Regions from separate parts of the Homo sapiens genome. Here region 1 is linked to region 2. The links are contacts of gene promoters, found by promoter capture Hi-C in blood cells and fetal thymus (Javierre and others, 2016). All regions are on one chromosome and are shown on one strand. Each heading gives the region's core, a stretch centred on a gene start or on the middle of the fragment in contact. The rest is flanking DNA. Distances are from core to core; before and after follow the strand shown. Region 1 overlaps ANKRD17 (ankyrin repeat domain 17). Region 2 holds the start of YTHDC1 (YTH N6-methyladenosine RNA binding protein C1).

Evidence for each region. Contacts are between HindIII fragments. The CHiCAGO score rates a contact against its expected background, and 5 or more counts as called.
Region 1: a fragment that was not itself captured here is called in contact with the fragment with the promoter of YTHDC1 in region 2 in 1 of 17 cell types (total B cells); the score reaches 7.4 in total B cells.

The regions. Positions count from the first base shown.
Region 1 is chr4:73,083,251-73,085,950 of GRCh38, reverse strand. ANKRD17 (ankyrin repeat domain 17) reads left to right here. Exons shown (of 34, transcript NM_032217.5): 30 at 505-702. Among named protein-coding and RNA genes, the nearest start is that of COX18, 15 kb to the right of the region's middle. The HindIII fragment of the contact is 7,936 bases long and covers 1-2,700 here.
Region 2 is chr4:68,348,783-68,351,482 of GRCh38, reverse strand. YTHDC1 (YTH N6-methyladenosine RNA binding protein C1) reads left to right here and starts at 1,393. Exons shown (of 17, transcript NM_001031732.4): 1 at 1,393-1,757. The coding sequence starts at 1,730. RefSeq lists an enhancer at 1,445-2,024. The HindIII fragment of the contact is 7,711 bases long and covers 1-2,700 here.

The DNA of each region.
Region 1 (2,700 bases), core at 180-2,679, 4.7 Mb before region 2:
GGTGCCATCACAGCTCATTGCAGCCTTAACCTCCTGGGCTCAAGCAATCCTCCCACCTCAGCCTCCCAAGTAACTGGAACTACAAACACGCACCACCAAACTTGGCTAATTTTTTTTTTTTTTTAATTTTTTGTAGAGGCAGTCTATCCTGGCCTTGAACTCTGGGTTCAAGCAGTCCTCTCACTTTGGCCCCCCAAAGTGAGATTCATGCCTGGGATTATAGGCATGAACCACCACACCCAGCCAGGAACTTTTTTTTTTTTTTTTTGAGGTGGGGTCTCGATGTGTTGCCCAGACCAGTCTTGAATGCCTGGCCATAAGCAGTCCTCCCACCTTGGCCTCCCAAAGTGCTGGGATTACAGATGTGGGCCACCACTCCCAGCCGGGATTTTTTTAATTATCTAAAATAGTTTTGAATATATTTAGGGCCTTTTAGAATTTTAAGGTATCTCTATTTCTTGCAGGAGTAACTATTATAAATTATGATGACCTTCTACATTATAGGTATTGTCAATATGGACTCGCCATATGGTTCTGTAACACCTTCTTCAACACATTTGGGAAACTTTGCTTCAAACATTTCAGGAGGTCAGATGTACGGACCTGGGGCACCCCTTGGAGGAGCACCCGCAGCTGCTAACTTTAACAGACAACATTTTTCCCCGCTTAGTTTGTTGACTCCGTGTTCATCAGCATCAAATGGTGAGTTTTATACACCGTAATTCCATAAGAATCTGCATATGTTTTCTTAAAAACAGCAGGTTTCAAACCTCATCATAATTTTAATACCATAAAAAGGTAATTTGTACTCTTAGAAGTCTGGAATTTCAAAAAAATTTCTAGGTATTTAAATGATTAGAATCAACCTAGGTTCTATCAAACCTAAAATATTGAAGTTTTTCTAAGAGGGATTTTTATTATTTTTTATTTTTATTAGAGACAGGCTCTCACTGTGTTGCCCTCGCTGGTTTCGTCAAACTCCTGGGCTGAAGCAGTCTTCCTGCCTTCCAAAGAGCTGGGATTACAGGTGTGAGCCACCACACCTGTCCTGAGGGATCATTTTTTGGGGGAAAAAAATTAATCCTTGTACCTGTTATTAATTTATGTTTACTTTTAGTTTTGAGAATACAGGTACCAAGGAGAAAGATTTCTACCCTTGAGTGAAAATTACATCCTTTTAGTCCACCTTTAAATCTCATCTAGGCTGGGCACAGTGGCATACACCTGTAATCCTAGCACTTTGGTAGGCCAAGGCGGGTGGATCACCTGAGGTCAGGAGTTCAAGACCAGCTCGGCCAACATGGCAAAACCCTGCCTCTACTAAAAATACAAAAATTAGCCAGGCGTTGTGGTGTGCACCTGTGATCCCAGCTACTTGGGAGGCTGAGGCAGGAGAATTGCTTGAACCCAGGAGGCGGAGGTTGCAGTGAGCCGAGATCACACCACTGCACTCCAGCCTGGGCAACAGAGCAAGACTTCATCTCAAAAAAAAAAAAAAATCTCATCTGCATTAACAACACAACAGATTTCACATTATCACATGTGTTTTTTAACTACAGGCAGACTTTTGAAGCAGTGATTAGATTTTCTTTCTTTCTTTTTTTTATTTGAAATGGAGTCTCACTCTGTCACCCAGGCTGTAGTGCAATGGCTCAAGCGATTCTCCCACCTCAGCCTCCTGAATAAATGGGACTACAGGCATGTGCTACCACACCTGGCTAATTTTTGTATTTTTAGTAGAGACAGTTTCACTACATTGGCCAGGCTGGTCTCAAACTCCTGATCTCATGATCTGCCCACCTCGGCTTCCCAAACTGCTGGGATTACAGGTGTGAGCCACCAGGCCTAGATTTTCAAACTAATGAAGATCAGTCAGCAATAGAGAATTCAACTCAACTAAGAGAATTCTGTAGTAAGGTTGGATATGTTTGTTTTCCAGGTAAAGATGTGAAATTGCTTATCCCTTAAGGAAGTTATAGTAAGACTTCGGTTTTTTTTTTTTTGTTTTGTTTTTTTTTTTAACTATCAAATTTCTTCTAACTAGCAATACTGGAATAAATAACAGTTAACCTAATTAACTTAATGAAAGAGTAAAGAGTTATAATTATTTTAGAGATACATGTCAGAGTACATTGCCAGTTAAAGCATGAGGTAAATTGTAGCCTGCAATGAATTTATATATTCATAGTTTTTCTTGTGTTTGTCAAATAGTGGCAGTCATATAGAATATTAATTATCCTTGCACAGCTCCCAAAGTGCTGGAATTACAGGCGTGTACCACCACACCACCCAGGTTAGGTTTTTTAATACATGCTTTTGAATATAGTGCTATATTGTAAATACAGAGTATCATTGAGGGCATTACAATTGCTTTTATTGTTGCCACATTCCAGTAACTATTTTGTTACAAAAAATTTCAGACCCATAGAAAAGTTAAAGAATAGTTCAAGGAATATCCATATTTCCTTCGCCTAAATTTCCCAATTATTTTGTTATATTTATTTTCTCTCTCTACTGTTTTGCTGAACCATTTGTAAATAAGGTGCAGATATGACACTTCAGACCTAAAAACATGCATCACTTAAGAATAAGGATATTTTCTTATGCAACCATGATACCATTGTCAAATACCTAATAGGTTAACATGAATTCAGTAAGAATTAATCAGTCCATATTCAGATATCTTCAATTATTCCAAAA
Region 2 (2,700 bases), core at 144-2,643:
TAGTGTTCAATTAAGGTCCTAGAAATGGGGCCACTCCTGGTGGCTTCACACCTGTAATCCCGCACTTTGGGAGGCCGAGGTGGGAGGATTGCTGGAGCCCAGGATTTAGACACTAGCCTGGGCAAGATGGCTAGGTGTTAGCCATCTTGCGGAGATGGTATATCTCCACAAAAAATGCAAAAAATGTGTCGGATGTGGTGGAGCATGCCTGTAGTTCCAGCTACCTGGGAGGTTAAGGTGGGAGGATCACTTGAGCCCAAGGTTGCAGTGAGCCATGATCACACCACTGCACTCCAGCCTGTGTCACAGTGAGACCACGTCTCAAAAAAAAAGAGGTACCACATTCTAGACTTCTAGACTACTTGTCTTTCCCTGAATATGCAGTTAGTTTGCCAGTTTGTCTTCATATCACGAAGTTACTTAGTTACCTTTTTCAGATTTTTCTTTCCCTTATAACTCAGTTATAGTTCAAGGAAGCAAAATTAGATTGTTTCCGTTGGACAATGAATCTTAAGCAAGTTTCTCTTGCAGATTTTACCACACTATGTAGTTATGTATCTACTGGTCATTTATTCTGTAGTTTCGATTCCTCGATGGTCTGCTTAAATCAATTTTGTGCCCCAGGGCCTTGATAACATGTTTAAATTAGTTATTAATTACAAAGACCTATTATGATACAATTCTTTCCCCAATTAAAAACAAAACTAGGCCGGGCGTGGTAGCTCACGCCTGTAATCCCAGCACTTCATCCTGGCCAACATGGTGAAATCCCGTCTCTACTAAAAATAAAAAAATTAACTGGGCGTGGTGGCGGGCGCCTGTAGTCCCAGCTACTCAGGAGGCAGAGCCAGGAGAATCGCTTGAACCTGGGAGGCGGAGGTTGCGGTGAGCCGAGATCGCGCTGCTGCACTCCAACCTAGCGACAGAGCGAGACTCCGTCTCAAAACAAACAAAAACTAGCAGGCTTTTGTGACTACAAACAAGCTGGTTGCATGCTGCACTGCCTTTGGGTAAGAGTGGAACTCCAACTAAGAAAGTACATCTGGTAAACATAAGGGATTCACCCAGACTTGTCCTAAATAAGACTCCGATTACCCGAACTGAATCAGGAGTCCTTTAGAGCGACTCTAGCTAAGAAGGCCTGTTAGGCCCTGCACTAAGAGTTTCAGGTGGGAAAATTGCGCCATCCAGTTATAGGCCGTACAGCGGGAACTCCATGAACAACCTGGGTAACCTAATCCCTGAATAAGACTCCTTCCAGGTACCAGTGGGCTGAGGGCGGCAGGGCGACGCGCTGACGTCACGTCACGTTCCTTTGCACGTCCCCGCCTCCCCGCCCCTCTCCGCACTGTGACGTTCCCAGAGAGGAACGAAGCGTAAACAGCGCAGGGCATTTCGGGAGCGGGATTGTTTCGCGCAGGAAGCAGGCTCCATTTTAGCGCCGCCCGCCGTCGCCATCTGTTTCCCTTCCCTCCCCCATACCTAGCCCGAGTCTGAGCCCTAACGAGAAGGCTGGGCCTAGGCCGCTGGATGCTGGAGTGAAAGGAAGGGAGAAAGGGAAAAAGCGGGAAGAGTCGAGAAGGCTGAGTGTTAAGAGGCCAAGTGCGACGCGCGTATCCGGGCAGACGGACTGACGGACGGGCCCGTGCTTCTGCCGCGGCTGCGGCGCCCGCGCGAGTCGCGTCTAAGCGGCGGCGGCGGTGGCAGCGGCGGAAACCGAAGGGGAGCCATGGCGGCTGACAGTCGGGAGGAGAAAGGTTAGTGCGGAGAAAGATGACGGGCCGAGGCGAGGCTGGGGCCCGGGAGTGGGGTGATGGAGCAGTGGTCGTCGTTGGGGGTGGGGGGTGGGGGTTGGGGAGGTTAGCTGGCCTCGCGAGGAGCCGGTGGCCCCCACCGAGACACTTAGACTCTGGCGGAGACCAGGCCTGCCCTTTCGTCCTCAGTCTCCATATGGCCTAGCACTTCATCTCAGTAGGGTTTTTCTTTGATGCGGATTTCACGCTTGACTTTCCGTTTAGCTGTCTTGGGCTGAGAGGGGCCCTTTCTGAGTTGCAAGCTCCTAGGTTTATTTCCTGGTAGGATCATGCGGATGTAACGCGTATTTTCAGGACAACCATTTCTGTTAGGCTAAAATTTGAAAACCCCTAATGCCGCGATCAACACTGGTGGTGTGGTAAGTGAGCAAGTTTAGGAAGTGGCACTGGCAGGTTATTAATCTTGAGAAATATCTGCAAATAACTTCTGGCTGTTCCTGTTAAATAGGCAAAGTGAATTACCCGTTTTGTTCCTCGAATACTTATTTTGGAAAAACATAGTACTTGGAAAAAGGAATACTTAGTTTGGAAAGATGACTGTGTGACTTAGGCTGGCAAAGAAATCCTGGGTGCTATTATGTTAGAAAAACCGTGTGTAGCTCCCAGAGGGTACAGTCAGAAACAAATGAATGCAAGTTACAGAGAGTTGGAGGGATAAATTTCAGTGAAATGTAGAGAGAACTGACGTTGCTGTAATGGAAAGATAGTAATACTAAGTTCCCAAGCCCTAGAGATATTAATGTAGGTCCTAGATCAGTGTCTCTCTGGAGAGTGGTCTAGATTAAATGCTGCTTTAAGATCTTTTTCAACCCTAAGATTAACATAATAGTCTTGGAAAGATTATAGTTAAAAATATGACACGGTCGCTGCTCTGTGTCTCACACAT